3 separate regions of the Homo sapiens genome follow, and regions 1 and 2 are each linked to region 3. Evidence: promoter capture Hi-C in human tissues and cell types (Jung and others, 2019). All regions are on one chromosome and are shown on one strand. The core of a region is centred on a gene start or on the middle of the fragment in contact, and the rest is flanking DNA. Distances in the headings are between cores, read along the strand shown.

Evidence for each region. The method cuts DNA at HindIII sites, captures the fragments that hold promoters and counts their contacts. A contact is called where the count stands out against the background at its distance.
Region 1: a fragment that was not itself captured here is called in contact with the fragment with the promoter of PPP1R17 in region 3 in 1 of the 25 tissues and cell types used here (mesendoderm cells).
Region 2: a contact is called between a fragment that was not itself captured here and the fragment with the promoter of PPP1R17 in region 3, in 6 of the 25 tissues and cell types used here (H1 embryonic stem cells, mesenchymal stem cells, mesendoderm cells and 3 more).

Annotation. Positions count from the first base shown.
Region 1 is chr7:32,053,911-32,057,782 of GRCh38, forward strand. All of the region lies in intron 1 of PDE1C (phosphodiesterase 1C), which reads right to left. Among named protein-coding and RNA genes, the nearest start is that of PDE1C, 15 kb to the right of the region's middle. The HindIII fragment of the contact is 3,574 bases long and covers 146-3,719 here.
Region 2 is chr7:31,349,984-31,353,606 of GRCh38, forward strand. No RefSeq gene overlaps it. Among named protein-coding and RNA genes, the nearest start is that of NEUROD6, 11 kb to the left of the region's middle. The HindIII fragment of the contact is 4,699 bases long and covers 1-3,623 here.
Region 3 is chr7:31,685,946-31,689,593 of GRCh38, forward strand. PPP1R17 (protein phosphatase 1 regulatory subunit 17) reads left to right here and starts at 1,270. Exons shown (of 5, transcript NM_006658.5): 1 at 1,270-1,361. It also overlaps a transcript of PDE1C not described here. The HindIII fragment of the contact is 11,578 bases long and covers 1-3,648 here.

The DNA of each region.
Region 1 (3,872 bases), core at 683-3,182, 370 kb after region 3:
GCTTTGTGAAAGAGGTAGTCTTGATTGCTGGGTGAAATGTCAGCAGGAAGAAATATGGAAGTATACAGCAAGCAGAAACAGAGGGCATGCCTCATGGTCTCAAACCAGTCCAGCAAGCAGGGACTATAAAGTGAGGTAGCAGGAAATAAGGCTGGCAAGTGCTAAGGACAGAGTTAAGTGGGAAGAGTAATAAAATTTATATTTTAGAAAAGATGATACCCAGGGGGAGTGTCACCTCTTGTGGGAAGCCGCATTACACACCCTCTTCTGTGCTCCCACAGCATGCTGAAACCTCTCTGACACCGTTCTCCGTGGCATTGCATTGTCTCATGTCTGATTTTGTGGAAAGGCAACAGGGCTCTGGAGTGTGATAGACCTGGCTCAAAACCTAACTTCACCCACACTAGCTATGAGACCTCAGGCAAGCTCTGTGCTAAATCAAGCTTTCATTTCTGCATCTGTGAAATGGATGAGATGATCTCAAATGAGATAGTGTATTAAATTTGTCATGTAGTGTGCCTGCCATGTAAGAGGCATTCTAAGATTTTTAGGCCCCTTGGTCCCTAGTTCTGAGCTTCTTGAGGTCAGAGGTCTGTCATATGCATCTCTATATCTATCCCAAGGGCATGCACGTTAACTGGCACATGGTTGGCTAAATAAATGAACTATTTGCAACTGTCACCCATACACATCAAAAGATGGGTTGTGCATCTGGTAGACCCAAAGAAAGACAGACCAGAAGTCTGATTTTCAGTCCAACTCACCTTCCTGACACGCCCCTCGTTCATAGATATATTCTTAGCTTCAGATATTGTAAAGTTTCCCCCTTCAATCTTCTCCCATTTAGACACAGCCCTAAAATCAACCCAAATGGTATCATCTTACAATGGAGTTTGGAGGTCAGCTCTTAAAGCACAAGAGAAAATGCAACTCATAAAAATTACTCAAGATCCAACTCTCAGATTATTTTGAATGGGCAAGATTGGTGAGGCCTGACTGAGCCCTACTCATCCTTCAGTTCTCAACTGAAACATCACTTCCAAAGACCTTCTAGGGCCCCCCAAACTGGGTAACACTCCTTCTGTGTGTCCCATAGTGGCCAGAGCTTACCCACCACATTGCACTTATGACTGCTCATGGTCATGATCTGTTATTCTTATGGAAAGAATGATGGCTTACCTGACATCTGCTAGTGTTTCTTCCTTGTCATGGCAACTGCTCAATATGTTGTTATTGAATTCATGAATGCATTTACCCAAAAATTGATCAAAAATGCTTTCTTTTTATTCTTTTTCCTTCTACTAAGCAATGATTTATAATGAGCAGTGAGGACATCCACCACAGCTGTGGTTTCCTACACACAGAGGGAAAGCAATGAGAAGGCTGGGGAGCTCACATTTGTTGAGCACCTCCTCTGTTCCATTCCTCTTACACAAGTTAACTCACTTACAACTCCTGCAAACCCTGAGAGGTTCTACCTACTTTCGACTTGACAGAAGTGAGTCTCAGAGAGGTTAAGTAACTTGCCTAAGGATACAGAACCTTAAAGTGGCTGAGACAGAAGGCAAATTCTGAAGCCTTCAAAGAAAATTAAGGAATGTATACAAAGAAGGCAAAAGATTCCACCAAGAAACTTAGACACTAGATAAAACCAAAATAAAATTAATAACAATAAAACATACTGCATTCTGTCCACCAAAATGCAGGAAATGAGCTGGAAAAAAAACCCCAGTTTATTCTTGGCCTTCTATTTTTAAGAACTTCAACAGAATCCCTGACTCGCAATCTGAAAGACAAAGGGAATTTTTTTTTGCTTTGTTTTGTTTTTGAGAGGGAATCTCACTCTGTCGCCCAGGCTGGAGCGCAGTGGCGCAATCTCGGCTCACTGCAACCTCCTCCTCCTGGGTTCAAGCGATTCTCCTGCCTCAGCCTCTGAGTAGCTGGGATTACAGGTGCATGCCACCATGCCCAGCTAAGTTTTGTATTTTTAGTAGAGATGGGGTTTCACCATGTTGGCCAGGCTGGTCTGGAACTCCTGACCTCAAGTGATCTGTCTGCCTCAGCCTCTCAAAGTGTTGCGATTACAGGCATGAGCCACCATTCCTGGCTTGTTTTTAAAATTTGTTTCTAAAACTTAATTTAAATTTGTAATATTTTGAAACTTGAAACAACACACTACAAATCTCAAGATTTCATGTAGCTAGACCAAGCTGATGTAGAAAGTAGAGAATGACAAAGAGCTGTTGTGTTCTGGGACCTGGCAAATTTGGCAGGGTGGGAGATGGAGAGGCCAGCTTCATGCTGGGAGAGAAGGCAAGGGCATCTTCACAAGGCCAGGCTGAGGACACCACTTCAAAGAAGGTCTAGAGTGGCACTTTGCAAAGTCTGTTCCCTGGAATGGGTCCACCGTTCTCTCTCTCTCTCTCTCTCTCTCTCTCTCTCTCTCTCTCTCACTGAAACACACACACACACACACACACACACACACACACACAGCTTCATCTGTTTGTCGTTTCTGTTTTTCTAAGGGGAGGCATTACAGCATACTGCTCAAGATCACTTGCCTGAGCTTTAATCCCTTCTCCAACTTATTGTGTCCGACAGGCTGCATGACCTTTAGCAACTTATATCACTTCTCCAACCACTGGTTTCCTCATCTGTAAAATTTGGGTAACAGCAGTGCCTGCTTTACGGGGTGATGTGAGAGTTAAATGTAATGATGACTGCAGGGCATTTAGCATAGTGCTGGGCATCCTGGAAATGCTCAAGCGTCAGCTACTGTACTAAAAACAGTAGTATTGCATAAATAATAATGGCATTATAATTCAGTAGGTTTTCAAAACTTACTTGATCAAAAATCTTTCATTGATTTTAAAAGTCACAAAAAAAAGGTTGAAGATTGCTTTTCCAGAATGGAAAAATTGGATACTCCCAATTTTCCTTATCTTGGAACACTTGAACCACAAAGAAAGCAGGTGCTAATCTCAGTTCTGCTAAGAGGAGAATGAGCTGAAACACTGCCCAGCTTTTCCCATGCATAAGGGGCCGTGTGCCTGCCTGTACACCCTGCCACCCACCCCAGCAATGTCCCACTTAACCTAGCAGAGCCACACACTCCCCTTAAATGTCAAAGCTGAGCCATTGCCCAAAAGGCAGGAGAAAAGAAAGTAAAACTGGATAGTTATGAACTGGATATCACAATAATCCTTGGAAATATCTAAAATTATCTTTCAAAGAAAGTCCTTTTTATCAATAACTCCCTAAAAACTGAGCCCAGTGACTTGCTTACACACATCCTTAAGCAGTCTCAGGAAGTTGTAACTCAATGCGGAGATCTCATGTGCTATGGCTAGAATTATTGATTAACCCATACTCATTTAGCTCTTAAGTAAATTAAAAGACCACTAGTCTTAATGTCTGTTTATGTCCGGAATGTTTCAATGGAACTGTGGATTACCCAAGAAGTATTAAATGATGCATGTGTGTGTGTGCGTGCACTTGTGCACAACAGGGGACATGAACCCCAAAACCCCCCTCAACGGCTTCGGTCCATTTACAGGCAGCTGGTCACATCCTGACAGGCAGATTCTGAAATAGGAGCATCATCAAAGGGCAAAGAGCACTGACCTCCAGTATTTAAATAGGTTCCCCAAAGCTCTCCACGGCAGTGTCATAAAGTGGAAGCTTCTAGACCCTGAACTTCATTTTCCTTCTCCTGCCCTCAGTCAGGGAGATAAAGAATGAAACTAAGCAAGCTTAAGGGGTGATTCTGTCCACAGTCAGGGGCAAAGTAAAGATAAGCAGGCAAACAGCGAGAAACAACAGTGAGGTGGGAGCAAGGATGCTTTTAAGGGTCTTTATTTGCTTTTTGA
Region 2 (3,623 bases), core at 476-2,975, 340 kb before region 3:
TGTAGGTGGAGAACATGTATTATATTGTCAATGAAATCAATTATTCTGAAGGTATTATCTAGACCTCTGCTTGCAATTTCAGCACCTTGGACTAGGAAATATGGCAATGTTTTAAGGACAAATAACTTCTTAGTGAAGCTTGAGCCAGACTACAAATCTTTCAGTGACTTGAACTTCTTGGCTGTGCATACTCCAATTCTTTCCTACATAAGCCTTGCAGCCTTTGCTCTTTGTCTCTACCTACTTTCAAATCTCTTGGTGGCTTTGATGGAAGGAGTACATTGCACACCAAGAAGACACACAGAAAGCATTTTCAGTCCTGATGTTTACACGCTTGCAGACAGAAGCTGGCAAGGTGAGTTTGGAAACTAAAGCTTTAGGTTGAACAGCTGACCTTGCTAAAGCCACAGATTCAAATGGAAAAAGGCAGGAGCTAATCACCACCAAGGGAATGCACTTATTTGTCCTGGGATGTAACATATGCAGTTAGGTCTTATAACCCCTAGAACACATTAAAAAAAATTTCATGGTTCACACCTTACAGGAATAAACAGCTAGTGAATCCTAAGGAAAATGAAAAAGCTCAAATCATTATTTGTCTTTTAGTATTTTAGACGTCTGGTTGGTTGGCTCTGTTTTGTTGTCAAATTTCATCTAATTACAATATATTTTTCATTTGTGTTTTAAAATAGCAATCCTAACCCACTGTTATTATAACATATGTGGTAAGTTGTTATTCCCAGGGTGGTGATAAATTTGTGGTGATCCATTCACATCCTCATGGGTTGGAATTAATCTTTCTCCTCTGATTTCCCACTACACTTTGTGCTTCTATTATTGTGCTTAGTGTAATTTGCTTTGTAGTATAGCTATTTGTGACTGCATCTGTCTCCCCTACTAGACTGTGAGGACAAAAATGATCTCGGATTTCTGTTTGTTTCATTTGGCTTTGCAGTACCTGCATCACATAACACACTGATTTGCACATAGTAGGGACTCAATAAATATTGATGGTAGAATCAATTGATCAATTACAGTTGCAGCAGATTTGGCTGAAGAATACCTCAGAGCAATGAGGCCCATCTGTCAATAAAAGCTGTGATCTTTGCCTCATTAACACCATGGCTAAGCAATGAAATAAAAGTCAGTGACAAAAGGCTTTGTGTCCCACATACCATAAGCTAGATTGTAGATTATGTAATTCCTTCAGCAGTAAAAAATCCTTCGGAAAGCAAGAGGCTATATAGTAGCAATAATGATCCATAATTTTATACAGTCTGCATGTGAAGGTTGACCCCAGCATACTCTCTCCTGGCTTTTTCAAAGGAGCAAGGCTGTCCAGTGCTAATTATTTCTTTCAAAGTCTAGAATAACTTTTTCACTGAGCAGTTTGCATTTTGGCCGCCAATACTGGTACAAGATCCAGTCTAATATAGTGGCACATGGCTTTCGATTCTGTTATTAGCCAGTGTCCTTTTCTGGAGGAAATATATCATTATATCATTGTTCTTTTGATTCAGAGTTCAAGCATTCCCAGGCTGGGCTTTCTACCACTGGCAAGATGTGGGTTTGGCTTGTTGGTGGTGAAGCTAACTTACATTACACCGGCTCAATTAGTTGCACCGCTGCTTTCTGTTGAAAGGTGTTGGACATCGAAGAGAACAGAGGGGCAGTTCTTCATCCTGCCCTATTTGACCCTGCTCGTTCCTCAGCTGCTGAGGCAGCACATATATTTGGTGGACTGATAAGGAATGGGAAACACATGATATTGACAACATTTTTCTGTTCTCCAAAGCAAAAATCCTTCCAGATTAGCACCTCACTTCCAAATGATCCATGTTGGGAGGAGTCTGAAAGAGAATTAGTGAAGAAAGTGAAATCGAAATAAGTAAATATGTTATGCATTTGGGATTAAAGGCCAGACAGGACACCTAAAACCAGCATGTAACTAACTAACCACAATTATCAAATGCCTGGCATGGTCAATGAACAGAACGTGATCCTGTGCTTGAAGAGCATTTAGACACATGCAGACCTACTGCTGAAGCAGTGGGGTATGAGCCATAGGAGCCTGCCTCTTTTATGTCTGAAATGACCCTAGACATTTTCAGTGGTGATGGCAGTAAAAACATATACTAGCCCCTTGGGAATTTTTATAAAATGAACATTCCAATCTAGGAGAATAATTTTTCTACAATTAGAAAGAACAAATCAAGTTACGGCCTTTTTGAGTGCTTGGTTTTTAATATTTCCTCAGGAGACCAGACTTATTTTTATTTTTTCCGTGGAAATTCCAGTCATAACTAAACAAAAAGTGAAAATTGTGCACATGAGGTGATGTGTCCTTTAAATCCAAATCTCTGGGCAGTGTGGAATTATAACTTCTGTGGGCTCTAGGCACTTTGATTTTTTGGGTTCTGGTATGGTTTGGCTTTATGTCCCCACTCAAATCTCATCTCAAATTGTAATCCCCAGGTGTTGAGGGAGAGACCTGGTAAGAGGTGATTGAATCATGGAGGTGGTTTCCCCCATGCTGTTCTCATGATAGTGAGTGAGTTCTCACGAGATCTGAGGTTGTTTTAAAGGGCTCTTCCCCCTTCACTCTCTCTTGCCTGCTGCCATGTAAGACATGCCTACTTCCCCTTCCACCGTGATTGTAAGTTTCCTGAGGCCTCCTGGCCATGTGGAACTGTGAGTCAATTAAACCTCCTTTGTTTATAAATTACCCACTCTTGGGTAGTATCTTTACAGCAGTGTGAAAACAAATTAATACAGGCCCCTTCCTCCATAAAAATTAAAAATAAATATATTTTATGATTATGTTAGTATGAAGACATAATCCAGGCTGAGTTATATTCATTTTTTATTCTGATTTTTTTCTCGTGGGCCAGTTAAAATATTATGGGCCCTTGGCACTGTGTGTGCTATGCCTAATGGATAAGTCCACCCTGTCCTTAGAGATTGGGTCTGACCAACAGCATTTTAAAAGCTCCACCTGGTTGAGAATCTCTGTGGTGTAAGGGTTACCTGCTACCTGCAAGGGCCTTCAGAATTATTTGTGGAAGTGTCTGCCTCTTCTGCTTTTTCCAACTCTAGTTTTCATAAGCTTCTCACTCTCCATATGAAATATACAGATGATTCAGGGACATGGCAGAATGGGTATACTATTAAGGTTGCCAGATTCAGCAAATAAAAATGCAGGCTACCCAGTGGAATTTGAATTTCAGGCATACTTATAGGTGGGGCAAACTTATACTAGAAAGTACTTGCTGTTTATCTGAAATTCAAACTTAACGGGGCATCCTGTATTTCACCTGGCAACTCTACATGCTTCCTTTATTCTTGGAACCCAAAGTCTTTCTTCCTCATAAAATACACTTTATGATGAATATGCTAGGCACTAATCAAGTGTTTCTTAAAGAATGCTCTGTAGACTATTAGGAATCACATTTTAGAAAAAGAGTCGTGTGATTAAAAATGTGGATGTTTTTTCTTCTTTTTTGAGACAGAGTCTCGCACTGTCACCCAGGCTGGAGTACAGTGGCATGATCTTGGCTCACTGTAGCCTCTGCCTCCTGGTTTCAAGTGATTGTACTGCCTCAGCCTCCTGAGTAGCTAGGACT
Region 3 (3,648 bases), core at 20-2,519:
TCAACCTCTTGGTGAGTTTACTATGGTTCTAGCCCTGTTATTTGGGATCCTGGCAAGTGGGAGGGAGGCACCAACAAACACATTGCCAGTGGCAAGCAGGCAGTTGAAACCAAGGGGTTGCCAGGGACCTGCTCTGCAGGGAACCTCAGGTAAGACTGGAAAAAATATGGATGTGTGGATGGTGCTCACGTATCTTCTGTGAGAACATATTTCTTGGGCATCACTGGGTGGTCCATTGGCTGCTATCAGGGGGTCTGGAGCCCTTCTAGTGGGTCCTGATACCTACCTGATCTCCCAGACTGGCCTTCCTGCTTTGGAGTCAAAACTGCTGCTCCTCCAAACCCCAGTGGGCTCTCCTCCAGTGAGCAGACCCAAAACATAGAACCTTCCTCTCCAAAAGACAGCATGTCTCCCGCCTCTCCCACCTTGCTTAAACATCCACTCTTGAGTGCCTACGTATTCCTAATATTGGTACATTTGGCTTTGTTCCTTTGAAGGAGGAAATTTTTTCTGGCCTGCACACTATAACCTATAGAGTTGGGGGCTGCTTTCTTTGCTATGTGCTGTTTGAAATGCTCTCTTTGCTGAGAGGTATTGCAAAGTGGTTACAAGCGTGGACCCTAGCATTTCATTACCCCATTCAAACCCTAGCTTCACCATGTGGGGAGACCTTGGTCAGATGATTTGGTAACTCTTGAGCCCCAGCTTCCTCATCAATAAAATGGGATGATGACTGTAGCTCATCTCACAAGGTTGGCCTGAGGGTTAAGTAAGTAGATATGTGTGAAGTCTCTAGAAGAGTGTCTGGCATTTTGGTAGCCTTACATAAATGTTAGCAGTAGCTACCCTTCTCTTCCTCCTCATGATAGTACTTTGAGAAGCAGCAATAGTGATTGAAAGTACTCTGGATTTAAACTTAAATAGCTTTGAGAGTCGAAATTAGCTGTGGCCTCTCTTGGGCATATCACTTAACTTCTTGTGCCTCAGTTTCCATATTTACAAAATCAGGCCAAAAAAAATCTATCGCATGGGAATTCAATGATGTAGCTGGTTTGTCTGAATTTCTCTGGTGTGCACACCGGAAACTCAAAGCACGACTCTATACTGTACTTTTGTAATGTACAATGATTGCCGTGGAGAGCAGCGATGGAGATGTTAGTCCTCTTTCCTTCTCCATCCCCCTTGCCCTGGTGCCTGTGAAACAGAGCATCCCCATGGCAACAGCAGCAGCTGGTCCCTAGATAAGAGGAGCTGGAGCCGGCCAGCAGCAGCCACTGCCGCAGAGGAGCCAGGCCCAGCCTCGGTGAGCACACACGCCCTCCCTGTCTCTCGCCTTCGCTTCCCTGCATCTGCGCTGATTGGTAAGTGCTTCAGATTTTTACTCCAAGAACTTTTGTGGTGAGAAAAGCAAGTTTCCAGTCAGTTACTGGGACAAAGAAGGCTGTAGCTGGTGGCACGGGGTTGTGCTTTATGGAGCAAGGCTAAGCTGGGGCCGAGTGGACAGCAGAAAAAGTTACCACTTTCAAGTCATTCTTCCAAGGGAGGGAATGGAGTTCTGTAAAAGACTGAACCCTCACAAACTCATTTGCAAAGTTTCAAGATGAAGTTGGTGTATCTGCATATTCACACAGGATAGAGAGGTTTATCTTCCAAGGCTGGGGAAAGTACAGAAAGTATGCTTCTCAAAACACATTCTCCATGCCCTACTTTAAGTCAGTCTCTCCTCCAGGAATACTGCCAATTTAGGTTTTCTAAATGAACAAATCTGATTTTAAAAGACGGTACTTTTTGACCTGAATTCAATCCTCTGGTTAAAAAGAGGTTTGACAATGAATATGTATTTTACATAGCCAGAGGGTGCATTAACGAGATACCACATAGGCTGTGGATACAACCTTCTACCCTTTTATTCCATCCAGTAAATCAAGACCTGATTACTTTGGGGGATATTCTTCAGAATACCGTATGGTAAGCTAAGTGTCAACTCGCTTCTGAGAATCAGTTCTATTATGTTCCCAAGATTTAGAAATGGGTTGGTTTTTGTCTTGAACTATTCTCATCTCATTACCAGCTTCAGAGAAGGCCAGAGATGGGATAAAGAGATAATTCTGATAGATCAATTTAGATAGACATATAATCACAAATGGAGGACTGAAAGATCCAAGAAGGTCCCTCACACTCACGAAAATATCAGTGTGTAGGACCTGGGCTCGGGACTCCATGCACATTCTATGGGTAATACTCTCAACAACCCTGGAGAAGAGCCACTATCTTCCCCCATTTAACAGATTTGAAAACTAAATTTTTGAGAGAACAGATAACTGTCCCAAGTTCACCCAGCTAGAGAGTGGTACAAGCAGCCAAACGTTGGCTTCTACCTTATATTGACTCACAGCATCCAATCTTAAAGTTGAGAGGAATTTTCTTCCCATAATTTAAACCGCATATTCTCACATCCAACTGAGAAAACCGCTCAATGATAAGAGAAAAGACAAAAAATCCAGACCAGCTTCTGACCACACACTGAACCAACTAATGTGTTTCAGCTCCGCTGGTGTGCCTGCCTTTCTGCAATATAGTGGGGTCCCTTTTCTGGCACCCAGTTCCTTCCCCCTTTCAGTTCCTGTTCTCAAAAGAGAAGGTGACCTTTGTCATTAACAATCCCTGTGTATTGTGACATCAATTTACATATTGCTGCTCTTAGTGGTATTTGCATTTACAAGTATCTCTCTGTAAAAAGAAAGGTTTTGTCCCTTGTGAAAAGGAAGGTAAGGATTAGTAAGAGGAAGTTACAAGAGTTTAAAATCTGAAATCCTGAAATCCTTTCTCAAACCCTGAAATCATATCTCTTGGTCTCTTGCATACTACACTGAATACCTACATTCTGTCAAACAACCACAACCAGAAGAGTAATTCGATCAATACTCTTTCATTCTCTAATTAAGAAATCTGAAACATTTTGAAAACCAAAAGGTTTGTTGTTAAGTTCAACACAAACTCATTTGGTAGCAAAGCCTGACCTGAAAGAATGTGAATTTTTTGTGGTTTGTCTTTATGTCACTTAGTGTGAATATTCATAGTTTTGCTGCAGAAATAATGGATGTGACTGCTGGTGCTCCTTGAGACCCCTCTAGAGCTGTTATATAATTTAAACAGTCCTGATTTCCACAGCACGTTTGACTCCAGGCTTGTCACAAGGGTGGGTGGCCAATATTGCAATGACAGTGGCAGTCCACGTCCCTGTGTGAGTGTTAGAATTCAGAGCCCACACTGAACCAATAAGTGGAAAGAGGATGTTAAAAAGGTCACAAGTCTTTGTAGTAGACACAGTTTATGAAAACACCCCCAAATGTGAAGTATTAGACAACAAGCCTCTCTGGAGGCCCTAGCTTTTTGGTTGAATTCTGAAGATGCAGAGGACCAACTATGCAGGCATGAAAGAAAGAGCTGGTGCCTTAGAAAGTTCCCAAGTTACAGGGAGATGATGAAACCTTCCCTGGGCAGCCCAACAAGTGCAGCATCCCTTTATGACACCTGCTTGGGGTAGAGACTGAATTAAAGAGAGGAAGGCGTGGGTAGAGTCAGGAATAGGAAATGGAAATATTCCATTTCCTATGTCAAGAATTAGACCGGCTCATGTCTTAAAAC